Regions from separate parts of the Homo sapiens genome. Here regions 2 and 3 are each linked to region 1. The links are contacts of gene promoters, found by promoter capture Hi-C in blood cells and fetal thymus (Javierre and others, 2016). All regions are on one chromosome and are shown on one strand. The core of a region is centred on a gene start or on the middle of the fragment in contact, and the rest is flanking DNA. Distances in the headings are between cores, read along the strand shown.

Region 1 (4,367 bases), core at 520-3,019:
TTTTGTTAATGTTGATTACAATTTCTGCTGTGCTCAAACCTGTAGCACTCATAAAACATGCTTACACACGCGGGGGACAATTGGCGATGCTCCCTGCTGGCTGGAGCCAGGCCTGGGAGGCTCTTTGGGGGATCGATTTTCCGGGCAGGCCGGTCTGGCTGTCCCCTAACACGTATCTGTTTCTATAAATACCCACTACCCACGGGGAGGTGGGGGAAGGACAGAGATGTTTACCGGGTCAGGGAAGGGAACTCTGGGATGCAAGGACGAAAAATGAGGAAAGAAGGAAAGCAGCAAGGAGGAAGTTCCTAGGAAGAGGAGGTCATGGGTGGGCGAGCTCTGGAGGGGAAGTAAGGGGCCCACGCCACGAATCTTCCTTTGTGGCTGCAGCTTTGGGCTCGCCCAACTTAACCAGGGCGGCGTCGACGAGAGACCATCGGCCCGAGGCGTGGGGCTGCTTGTATCTCGACCCCTCTTCTCCCGGCGTCAGACCCCTCCAAGTCCGGGTGCTTCGGCCTGGGGCCCCTCCCGCCCCCACCGCCCGGGCCGCCCGCGGGCTGGGTCTCACCGTGTGGGCTGCGGCGGCAGCGTTGCTGGCCCGGAGAGGCGGCAGGGCGATGGGGGAGGGCGGGCCAGTCCCCACTCCGCTCCGGGTGGCCCCTGCACCGAGCCCCGGGGAAGCCTGAAGCTGACGAACGGCGCTGTCCCCACCTCGGCCTGGAAGCCACGTGCGGGAGGAGACAAAAGAGGGTCAGGGGGGAGAAAGTCACCCAGACCCCCCCTCCAACCCCGCTGGGCAGCGACAACCCTCTTCCAAAGAAAGACGGAGGAAGAGACCGGGGCAGTAAAAACGGGCGTTCGGGTCACGGCTCCCCAGCGCACACCCACGGGCGGGGCGCGGGCAGCTGCAAAGTTAAGTGGGGCCCTGGCGCGCGAGTTCGCGACCCGGCGGGGGAGCCGGGCCGCGCCGGGGCTAGGCGGCCCACGTTGCAGACGGCCAGCAGCCGGGAGGTGGGTTTGGACAGCTGAGCAGGGAGCCACGGCCACGCCAAGCCCCGGGCAGCGCAGGGCGGGGCGGCAGGCCTGGACGGTCCCCGCCCGGGCCCCCGGCAGGCAGAAGCCTCTTCGGGCCGAGGGCTCCCCGCGGAGGGGCCTTCGGGGCCGCGCACAACCCTGCATGGAGCCCGGGGCGCGTCGTCCGCCCGGGGGCTCCCCCGCGCCGCGCCGCCGACTTTGTTCGAGGTCCCGCAGGCAGCGGCCGCCCGCGCCACAGGGGCTGCCCAGGGCCGGCGGGGGTCCGGGGATGCGGCGCGGCGGCACGGCCTCCTTACCGGTCGGGTAGGCGGCGGGAGCGGCGGCCGAAGGTTTCCTGGTTAACATGGCCGCTGGAGAGGAAAATGCATTTCAGGGCTGCCGTCGCCGCCGCCGGTCCTGCTGCTACTTCTGGCGGCCGCCGCCGCCGCCTCCCGGCCGCCCCTCGCGCGGGTCCCCGGCGCCTCGTCGCCGCCTCGCGTCTGCTACAGCCAGACACACACAGTCCACTGCATCCCCTCGGCCGGGGCCCGCCGCCGCGAGCCCCCCGCTCTCCTCCTCGCCGCCGTCCTCCTCTTCCTCGGGCGGCTGCAGCACCCTCCGGCCCGTGCACATGCCTCGCCCTCCCCTGCGCGCCGCGGGCCTCCCCGTCTCCCTCACATAGGGGCGCGGGGAGCTGGAAGCGCTGCGAGGACCGAAGACCGCCTGGCTCGGGAGCCTCTCCCGGGCCCGCGCGCGCGCGCCCCCGCGCACTCACACACAGGCGCCGGCGCGCGGCCCCGCCCCCGCCGCCCTCCGCCGCCCTCCTCCGCCGCCGCAGGCCCCGCCCCCGGCTCCCCCGGCCGCGGCCACGCACACCCCACCCCCACCCAACCTCCCGCCCGGCTCCTCTCAGTCCCCCGGTTTGCGCGCAGCCGCCCCTCCGCTCCCCGGAAAACTCGGCGGCCTCCGCTCGCCCTCCTCCGCCCCCTCCGGCCATCTGCACTGCTTCCCTCGGCTCCACTCCGGCGACCTTTTCCCCTCCCCGGCCCCGCGGCGCCCCTTCTCTGCCCTACAGCTCAACCTACCGCTGCTGCCCTCCGGCCGAAAGCGCCGCAGAGACCCCTCCCCTGCCATGCGCACCCCTAAACATAAATGCATTTTCAGCTCTTCGAACTGAATGGCTGCTCACAGACAGTACTGCTTCCCCGTCCCCCCATTCTTGGTCCCAGCGACTTAGCCACTCCCCTCTCCCCAATTCATCATGTAGATAACTTAGTTGTGCGAGGGTCACCTCGGAGAGGCAAGTCCCGGGAGGGGCGGCCGCTGAGCTCGTTGACCCTGAGCAGGGGCGAAAGAGGGGGCTGCCCTCCCACCTCCACCACACACCCTCCCCGGTTTACTGACACCAAGTGACCGCTCGCCAGTCGCTAGGACAAGGGGAGGCAGAGAGGCGCGTGTGGACGGCAGCTGGGGAAGCAGTTGGCTGTGGGTTGCTAGGCAAAAATAAACATCAGAGACATCTCCTATTTCCTTACAACTCCGAGCCTTTCCCCTGCGCGGCCACTGGGAGAGACACACCTTCCTTTCAGCTCTGCGGTGAGGGAGCGACACCTCGAATTCCTCTCACCCCACCCGACACATCTCTTTCCCCCTTCCCTTCCAAGACACGTGGAGAATTTCCCTGCCTTTTTTATTCGCCATATACAACCTCTCTTTTCCTTGAAGACCAAAAAAAAATTGCTTTCCCGTCTCACATCCGCGCCTCGTCGTGCGTGGCACACAGTGCGCCTCTGTTCAAAGGTCACAGGTTTTGCCACTTCAACTGTGAGAGGAGGTGGGGTGGGAAAGCCCGACAAATCCCGGATGACGGGGCAGAGTTATGCCATGCACTTCCTTCTCGAGAGGTGCCTAGTTTCTGAAGTTCTCTTGGGGCCAGGGGTCCATTATGCTCTGCCCCGCCCGAGTATCTCTGGCTCCTGGCTGGACCTACTGTGCAGGCCCGAACTAGTGCAGACTCCAGTCGGAAGGGAGCCACCTCCTGCGGAGTTTCATCCACTCTACTGTTTGCAAATTGTCATAGCAACCTCCTACAGAGCGCATCCGCAGCTTTATACAAACGCCAAAAACTGTTTCAAGGTACAGTGTGACCCTCTCAGAGTCTCTGGGACTCCTAAAGAGGCCTCCAAGTTAGGGTCACTGGGAGAGGGAACCTGTGACAAAAAGAATTTTCCCTAGTATTACGTCCCTCCAAACAAAACAAAACAAAACAAAACAAAACAAAACACCCTTTCGGGGCCTTCTCCTAATAAAGTAGACCCACAGTAAAATAATCCAATAATATGCCTTTAGAGGAATCATGACCTGAACTGACCCTAGCAAGAAATATCCCCCTATGCTTGTCACTGGCGACCATCACATTTAAATCCACATGCGGAAGCATATTTAGTGTTTAGAATCGACTAAAAGAAAAGGGCTACTAAGTAGCAGAGATGACACTAGAACCGGTTTTCTGACTCCCAGTCTGATTTCACTATGACTTCCATCACACTACTTTCCTTACACTTTCAAGAAAGCTCACACCTCTTTTTTCTCCTTTCAAAACAATTATTTTCATACCATTTTCCTTTTTAAAATGAGTACTCCATACAACTGATGTTCAAATAAAAAAATGAAACAAAAAAATCAATTTTAATATAATATGACACCCCTTTTTGCTTAAGTTATTCGTACAATACTTCAGTAGAAGCTAAATATGCCACTGTTTTCTCATGAATAAAATAAATGCTAGTTACTGGAAGCCATAGTTTACGATTTCCAAATTAGTAATATTAATTTACTCATTTAACATGAGGAAAAGGAGCACTGATTCTTTTTTTTTTTTTTTTTTGACAAAGGATCACAATCATTAACTTTAAGAAAGAAAAAGACAATAGGGAACTTTTTGTAGTATATTGTTTTATATCATGACAAATATAATTTCAATTTTGTATATTTTTTGTGGCTTAACATAAGGAAATATTGCAGTTGACCTACCCCATAGCTATTTTGATTATAAATGGTACATCTTTGAAAATTATATTAATTTTTACTGACCTCTAAGTGACTATTAACCATTGCTTAGATTTTCCTCATTCTGTTAAATATTCTATTAAATATTGACATCTCCCTGAGTGAATGTTAAATAGAAAAGCTGTACAAACACACTCCTGGGGCTTTGGGGAGAGTGAAGTGGGTAAATTTGGGGAGTTATTTCCCTCAAATTTTATTATCATAATGCATCATTATCAATTATCTCATATAATTACACATATTTTGATCTCTTTATAAAACACTTTCACAAATATTACCATGTT
Region 2 (4,367 bases), core at 870-3,369, 290 kb before region 1:
CTCAATTTCCGGGGAAGAAGGGAAGAGCTGGCTCTCTGGTACTGATAATCTCTTTCACCTTCATCCAGCACTCAGCTTCTTCCGGCATTCCTGTATCAGAAAGCAAACACGGGCAACTCTAAACCTTAACACTCACATGCCTCTTAGTTGGTGTCACTGAGTTCCCTTGAGCAGGCATTTGGAGGTGAGACAGCTCTTAAAAGTAATCAAATTGCATAAACCACTCCTTTTGCAAATGGACAGTGGGAATTTAGCCAAGCACAGAGGAGAAAACTTCTGACAAATGTGATCCTATAGCAGGGCTACTTAACTTATGCTTGAGGACAATGTTCGGTATGACCAAGATAAAGCTTGGTAGGACTAATTCCTGCTGACCAAAGAATTAAGAGAGCACCAGGACCTGAGATGAGTCAGTCTAATTCAATCCTGACATGATCCCAGAAACTAATGTCACAACATTTCTGATCCTTAGCTAATAGGGGCATTGTTAACAACATCAGCTGCTCTGTTGTGGTTGTTACTGACTGGCACAAAGTGGATGGATTCGTTTTCCTTTGCTGGGCACCTCAAAACATAACTACTAGTTGCAGAACATTGTTAAGAAAATACTTGTAAGATAGTTTTACAAGTGGATTTGCATATAGTATTTGTTACCAAAAAGCGATGGTACTGTAAATTTTGTTTTTTCAAATTTATATTGGCAATTGTAGTCTCTGAGAACACTTAAATAAATGAAAGCAGGACTTTTACCATTATGCTTTCAAGATTGAGAACCCTGAGTTCAAAAGCTGATACTCTAAAAACACCTAGATTGAATGAACACTTTTCAAAAACCAATAGGAGTAATAAATACAACCTTAAAATTTATCAACTGACTTTTCTTCGAATGAAATTGTTGTTAGAAAAATATAAGCATTTGTATAATTAAAAAAATAAAAATCCATCATGAACCTGTAATCGAACATTTTGGCCCTTGTATTTGCTTATTTTAAAATGGGTCCATTTTTGCATGTTTGTGTATATACTTCCAGTAATGACAATTTAGTGTGTCTATACAGTCCAGAAATGACAATTTAGTGTCTATCTTACCAGAATTACAAAGCAATTCTGAAACAAAGGTCATGAGAGAGTCCCATTACCTTCTCCAAAGGGTGCCAGGACAACTTTTCTATTATATTTTCTCCCAGAAACCTTTACTGTTCCTTGTTTATAATAACCATTATTTTTCTGAAAAAGACAGTATACAGCCCAAGCGTTAACATTAGTTTTGTAACTCTATTTTTATGAAAGCTATTTCAGCAGCTAGAGAAACTGACTTAGCTGGCCCCCAAACAGCCTTCTCTCAACATGCCATGCAGACAAGATAAACCAGCTGATGGTGTAACAGCAGAAATCTCCCTACACGGGCAGTTTAGGAGCTGGCAGAGGTGGTGGGAATTTTTCTGGGCAGTGTTCTGGACGGCCTGTCCTGTCTGGTCTGTCTTTATCCCATTGTTCCCTAAAGCTCATCCTCCATGGTAATGCCTCAGACTGTGATGGGCTGTTCACTCCACAGCATGAATTCTGACCATTAACTTAGTGATAGGACCCAGAGGAAAGGCTGTCCTCCCCACATCTGTTCTTTGGGAATGTCCTTTCACAGGAACAAACTGTGCCCTAACCTTGGTGATTAATTTTTATAATAGGAGCTCAGTAGGGTTAGATTGTGTTGATACATGTAAAAGTACATAGAAAGTTAAGAACGTTCTCTGAATAAAATAGTACCACCACTCCATTACTCTCTCTCCCTCTCTCTTTCACATACACACATACACCCTCCACAATGTTTTACGGGAAGATATAGCTGTAGAAGGAAGCCTTTTCCTCTCTAACCTTGTTCTTTTCTTGGCATTTGTCCATGAAAAGTGGGTCTACTTTTGCAAGTGTGTGTGCATATTTGTAATGAGGTAATGGTCTTAATTTATTCAGAGAACTCCCTTAATTTTCTACTCACCTTTAGATTACAGAGAAAGAAAATTTTGCCAATTCTTTTGATCTCTCATAAATGTATTATGGAGTGAGTCTTAACCTCTCCATCTTCTGCTTTCTCCTCCCCATAGGAGCAGATGTGGTTAATCTGATTGCTCCCTGGAACTCATCAGGCATCCACTTCTTCCTTACTAATGCACTGTGACCCCATATGATGTTATTCAGGCCACTACTGTGTCTAGATAAGACTCCACATCCCAATCTACCTTGCAGCTGGAAGTGGCCAATGAGATGCTAGCAGAAGTTGGTAGGTGGGGTTCCCAGTGTAACTTCAGTTCAGCTGGGATGTGTGTCCTTCCTCTGGCTCCTTCTATTTTCCTATTGCCCTGGGACAGGGTGCCATGTCTAGAGCTCTAGTGGCCATCTTTCAACCTTGAAGTGACCTTGAAAACAAAAGCTACAGGCCAAGTAGGTAGAGTGGAAAACAGAAAGATTCTCATTCCCTGATGATTGTGGAGAACATTATACTTCCTGGCTCATCTATCTCCAAATTTATTTTGGGAGAAGGAAAGACTGTTTTTAAGACAGTTTTTTTTTGTTCAATCCAGCTGAAGGTAGTCTGTTATAAACTATATAAAAGTCATGTATTCTAGAATAGCTCCACGCTGCCTCTTTCCCCCTTCTCTCTACTCTCACCCTTGGCTGCTGGTTTTTGCTTGCCTTGTAGCTTCTCATCTTCAACTGTTAAACCCAGTGCTTGGTCTGCTTGTCGCATGAAGGTTGGAAGCCTTCCACCATTGATGTCCACCATCACTGAACACAGGCATCCAGCGTTTGTCAAACCTAGCCCCCATTTGCTTCCCGGTACCCTAGATAGCAGCAGAATCCAGTCTGCTGATTTGAGGCAAATTAACCAATCAGATTATTATTCCCATTTCCGTAAAGAAGAGCAAGTAAAGAGGAATTGAGATGGTGGATCTTTCCTTTTTGGTGTTTCTGAGAGTCATGATGGAGATTCCTTCTTCTATGAGATAAGAGGAAAATGTGGGAAGAGAAAGTTTCCCTAAAGATACAAATCATTCATTGCTTATGTTTAGATTTCCATATCAGTCTTTGCCTCTCTTTCATTTCCACTTCTATAGCTGTGTTGAAGGGAGTGAAAGACTGGAGTGGAGAGATGGGTCACTAGATCCCAGCCCTTTCAGTGCAACATGCAATTCAGCTTTACCTCTCCTCTGGCTGGTGGTTCTGAGAGACACCAGGGGGTGCAGGAAGCAGGTGTGTGCTTCTCCACTGTACAAAGGTGCACGCACCCTCTCTCCTGTGCACCTGCCCAGCAACAAGGGATGGGGTTGGGACAAAGAATGTGGGGAGAGTAGACAGTGGCTTTGTCTCCCTGCTTTGGCTTCTACACTGTGTGGATCTTAAATTTGTTTGTGTAAATTACAAGTGAGGTGCAGGGAGATTATTGTGTTAGAAATGCACTTGTTTACAGTGGGTTAACGGTAGGCAGTCACCATTTGCAATGGCTGTTTGGAACTGAGGATTCACTGCACTTCCTACATTGCCCTTTCTTTCCATAGAAGGTTAAACTAACAACATTCGCCATCAAGAAAAGAGGAGTAGTTACCCTTTCCACATTCCAGAATCTTATTCTTTCTACTTCCTTGAAAGAAATCTGAAGGAAGAGAATCAAGATCTTTTGATTACACAAAAAGGGATGTGAACAGCCCCTCTTAAGGACCATCCTTCTTCCAGGTGCGATGAAGAATGCCCTAGGTTATTTTCTAAAAGGATCATCAGAGTTGACAATTTTGTGGACTGTCTGTTTTGAAAACTGAACTTAATATTCAGGACACCATGACAACTAGAGGAATCACCTACGGTTTGAATCTCAAAACTATGTGTCTCCCAAGCTTTGCCCCCATGGATGACCCACTCAGAGCCACAGTACATCAAATGGGCCACTCACTTGCTGTGAGAAACGAACAGCAGTGCATATGTCTAAGACTCAACTGCCACATGGTGACTCTATTTAAAGTTACTCAGTGTTCAGTGTTGCCAGTTTCATAATAACAACACCTAGTATTTGTATATAACCTTTGGCTGAAAAACACAGATGTTTAAAAAATATACTCAGGTCTTATCACAAATGTAGGTGGCAAGTGTGGTTCTTTTCTTCCTCCAGTTGAGGAAAATTAAGTAACAGGAATGAATGACTTGTGTAGGCTCACTAAAGCATTTGTAAAACCTTGGCTTTTATTTGCCTTCGGTTTAGTTTAATATAATTTGTTAAATGGGGTACTGATTTTTTTCTCATGCTTTTTTGAGATCTAATTCACAATTCACCTTTCTAAAGCACACACCATGATTTTTAATATATTCACAGTTGGCCAGGC
Region 3 (4,367 bases), core at 646-3,145, 290 kb after region 1:
GTGATCAGTGGAGTTGAAAGTACTTCTGCTCTCTCTTCAGATATGACTTGGAAGTCAAATATTACAATAAAAGAGCTCACCCAAGGCTCAAATCTTGAATAGTAACTCACGCTGGTCATAAGCTCCACAATGGGAGGCTTTGAGGGGCAAAAACGCATGCATTTTGTACCTTGATATTTATGATGTTCTATCGCCACCTCCTGGAAGAAAAGACCAAGAACGCCAAAAAAAAAAAAAAAAAAAAAAAAGGGTGCTTAGTATTAAGGCTTCCAGTGAAGATAAATTTCTTCAATTCTCAAGAAAGGTAAAGACATTCTGCAGCCGCTGACAGTTCCATTTCAGATGAATTAGCATAATGTTGGGCAAACAGCAAACCTAAAAGGCAAATGTTCAAGACTCTAGCGTCAGTTATTTGCCAGCAAAAGATAACATCAAACATATGAGTAATGAGCCTTTAAAGTTGCCAGTCCCCAGGGAAGATTTGAGTTCTCATTAGTAAAGAGATATGAGATCCCATTTTGCCAGAGTCAATAGCACCGCATGAACACAGAGAGATACTAGAAGAATAATTTCCACACTTGGCTCTGAAAATAATCATCCTTATCTTTGCATTTTAAGTCTCAGAATTTGGCAAAAGAGTTCTAAGGATTTTAAAACATTAATAACAAGACTAAGAATGTTCCCAGATGAACTCTTATTTCTCAGACTATCTTGTTGGAGTTATTTACACATATGGCACAAACAAAGCCAAATGAATTGGAATATTTGACTTTCTCTCCACAAGATCTTACCAGTCTTTGTTTCTCAAGGTTTAGTTTGCATAAGGACAAAGGAATACAGTCGAATACTTAAAAGTATTATTTTAAAACACACTTTTATCTTGATAGTTATGTCTTTTCCATCAATATCTCTATTCACTATGTGAAAAAAAAAAGTCATACAACTTCAGAGTAGAAAGCATTTCAGTCCAACCACTTCACAGTCGCAAATCACAAGCTATTCACCCAGGAGGAAGAGCTGCTAAAGTCAATTCCCACTAAATTTCACCAGGGGCAGTTTAAACCTTCTGTTCTGTCTAGACATTTTGCCCTCCTCTGCCCAAACATCCTGACTTTTAAGGAGTTTTACAGCTTAGTCAACTCACCAACATCCTGAAGTAGGCTGAGATTGCAGATTTCTTTTCTGAATACCAATTATGCTTATTTATAAAACACAGAACATGGAGCAGAGAATTTAAGATTTTAGAGCTGCAAGTCACCTTCCTTTTATAATCCACAAAAGTGATTTGCTGTGATACCTGATGGCCTCTTTTGGAAAACAGAAGGCTTGAACACAGCATTGAAATGTGTCAGACTTTCTTTTTAAAATTTTTTCAGCTTCTTTTGAGGGTATATCCTGTAAAGCACTATGAGAAACATCCGAAAGACACAATTCTTATCCCCCAAAAGCCAATTATGTTGTCTGACTTCGGTTTCCTAAGCTACCCACAAACTGAAAGGCAAGGTATGGTGGTCAAAGAGTAAAGTCGACGTCTACACAGAAGCTTCCCTCTTTCCCTCAGCTCTGCCTCTTTCCAGTGCTGCTCATGTGATATGATACTTAGTCAAGCTTACTTTTTAAGTCAGCCACTTCGTGGGAACACTTTCCGGAGTGATGGCCAGCAGAATAGCTAAACTTTGTTACTGCCAAACCTCTTCTTGAGACAGGAACTCTGCCTACACAAAGCAAAAACAATATTTCAGCATCCCACCCTCCCTTTGAACCCACATTTGGAGTCATAGTTTCAGTTTTCATAACTATCCGGAAAACTGAAATGCTTCACTGGCCCACAACCAAACTCTTGGGCTCTTTTCAAGTCTGCCATCTCCCCCTTTTCATTCCACTTCCTCCCTCACTGTGAAACCTTGCTTGCTTGGACACTCCTGTAGTTTTAGACACCTTCCTGTCGATCTTTGAGCTATTTACCAGCTGAACATTTGTATTGTTAGTGTTAAATGATAAATTCATATAGCTAAGACACTTGACCAAGATAGACCGATACTATCATTTGAGCAACTGTCTCCTGCAATCTGTCATCACAATGAGATAGCCATGTTCTAACCTATCAGTAAGATTATACAAAAGTAAACAGAGTTGTCGGTATAAAATTGATTGTCAGCCGGGCACAGTGGCTCAAGCTTGTAATCCCAGCACTTTGGGAGGCCGAGGTGGGTGGATCACAAGGTCAGAAGTTTGAGACCAGCCTGGCCAAGACAGTGAAATGCCGCCTCTTCTAAAGATACAAAAATTAGCTGGGCATGGTGGCAGGTGCCTGTAATTCCAGCTACTTGGGAAGCTGAGGCAGGAGAATCTCTTGAACCTGGGAGGTGGAGGTTGCAGTGAGCCAAGATCGCGCCACTGCACTCCACAGAGCTAGACTCCATCTTGAAAAAAAAAAAATGCCACTGAGAGGTCATCTTTTATGAAATTCAAAAGTTTCAGAAATGTATCTAAATTGTCACCAATCCTTTCCCTGTAGTGTTCACCAGCCTCTGATCAGTTGATTTTAGGCAAATTTCTCACCTTCCACACTTGCAACACAAACTCAACTTCCAGCATACAGAGCTACTTGAAGGTTTCCCTAAATACACTAGGCACCCTCAGTCACTACACTACATATATGCTCTTGCTTTTTTGCCCAATGCCTGCCTTTTGACAGTCTGAGTAATGCCTACTTGTTTTCAAACTTCAGCTCAGGAGCTGCCTTCGCTTGTCTCATCCAAGCAGTCTGCAGCCCCTTGCTTTTATGCTCCTACAAGACCCTATTTATAACTCCATCACAGTGCCCATCATATGCTGGTAAAATGGTTTGTTTTCCCCTCTCACCTGCCATAGGTTCATTCTGAAAAAAGATTAAGAGTTTGACTCTGCAACCCCAGCACCCCAGGCTGTATCTAACACGTGGTAGGCAAACTGCAAATGTTTGCCAGATGGATGACCATTCCTGATGGCCAAGACATTAAGAAAGGGGCTGTTTTCCAGTGGTCCATAGCACTATGGACAGCTAAGATGACTGCCTCACCAGTTCAGAAGAAGAATAAGACATGCTCTCACTTACTTTCCTCCCTCCCCTTGTAACATGTATCTGGCGTTCTAGACAGCCCCATTTCCCCATCAGCCAAAGTTTTGGACCTATCAAGAATAAATCTTTAATTGAAGTCTATTAGTCTGTTCTCACACTGCTATACCTGATACTGGGTAATTTATGAAGAAAAGAGGTTTAATTGACTCACAGTTCCACAGGCTATACAGGAAGCATGAGGCTAGAAGGCCTCAGGAAACTTACAATCACGGCAGATGACTAAGGGAAAGCAAGCACATCTTACCATGATGAATCAGGAAAGAAAAAGAAGAGGGAGGTGCCACATGCTTTTAAACGATCAGATCTCATGAGAACTCACTCACTACCAGGAGAACAGCAAGAAGGAAACCTGCCCCCATGATCCAGTGACCTCCCACCAGTCCCCTCCTCCAATTCAACATGAGATTTGGGCAGGAAAAGAAATCCAAACCATATCATGAAGCTTTAATTGAAATGTTTGATTCTTCAAATAAATTACTTTCAAGTCAACCCAAGTGGCGTACAACTCTTGTAAACAAGTTTTCTAAATTTTGGTCACATTTTATTAACAAGTATTGAAATTTTAAATCAAGGCATTCAACAAGTGGAAGAACAAAAACCTTCAGCTTGCAAAACTTTTTAGAGAATTAAAGTTATTGAAAACAAAACTTACAGAAGAGCAAATGAAATTTGTCTATACAAAAAAAAAGGATGTGAACAAATGTTAACAATACAAATTTAAACAGGATACAGGATTTAATTTTGAAATTCTATAATTGCACTTTGGAATATTTCAACTTGAAGAGTCTTTTGATGGAGCTCCTACGTTTATTCAGATAAATTGGCATTCTGTTCCAGAATAGAATGGAATAGAGTTGAGAAGTCTACATTTTCACAAAACCTAAATTTGGTGAAATGCTCCAAACAGTCATAAAGACAACGTTTTTCTTCCTTTTATTTTTTTTTCTTTTTTGATTAAACATGTCTTTATTATCAGTATGCCTGATTCTGTGGAAAGCCGACTGGAACCCTGGTCATTCTGACTCTCGGGGCCTCATGTTCCAAGGTTGGCTGCTGCAACTCTCTCTTGAGCTCTACCTGTGTGTACATCTTGGTGATGTCATTGTACCTGCCTTTGGGGGGCTGGTAGTTAGAGACCCATAGTGTATAATCTGGACCTTCCCATTCAAAGGGGAACATGCTGCAGTCCCACTTGATGGTCTCAGTGGGGAACTCAGGGGACTTGAGTGGTAGCTCCTGCAGAGCT

The links. The method cuts DNA at HindIII sites, captures the fragments that hold promoters and counts their contacts. A CHiCAGO score of 5 or more calls a contact.
Region 2: a fragment that was not itself captured here is called in contact with the fragment with the promoter of DYRK2 in region 1 in 2 of 17 cell types (naive CD4 T cells and M2 macrophages); the score reaches 7.1 in naive CD4 T cells.
Region 3: a contact is called between a fragment that was not itself captured here and the fragment with the promoter of DYRK2 in region 1, in 5 of 17 cell types (M0 macrophages, M2 macrophages, M1 macrophages and 2 more). The highest score is 11.0, in M0 macrophages.

What each region holds. Positions count from the first base shown.
Region 1 is chr12:67,646,147-67,650,513 of GRCh38, reverse strand. DYRK2 (dual specificity tyrosine phosphorylation regulated kinase 2) reads right to left here and starts at 1,769. Exons shown (of 3, transcript NM_006482.3): 1 at 1,332-1,769; 2 at 569-717. The coding sequence starts at 1,380. RefSeq lists silencers at 377-766, 927-1,586, 1,597-1,896, 1,997-2,106. The HindIII fragment of the contact is 7,364 bases long and covers 1-4,367 here.
Region 2 is chr12:67,936,922-67,941,288 of GRCh38, reverse strand. The region is part of intron 2 of LINC01479 (long intergenic non-protein coding RNA 1479); the gene reads right to left. Among named protein-coding and RNA genes, the nearest start is that of LINC01479, 9.9 kb to the right of the region's middle. The HindIII fragment of the contact is 3,534 bases long and covers 353-3,886 here.
Region 3 is chr12:67,351,858-67,356,224 of GRCh38, reverse strand. It overlaps LOC124902957 (a long non-coding RNA gene), which reads right to left. Exons shown (of 2, transcript XR_007063354.1): 2 at 3,545-4,367. It also overlaps the pseudogene MRPL40P1. Among named protein-coding and RNA genes, the nearest start is that of CAND1, 85 kb to the right of the region's middle. The HindIII fragment of the contact is 569 bases long and covers 1,611-2,179 here.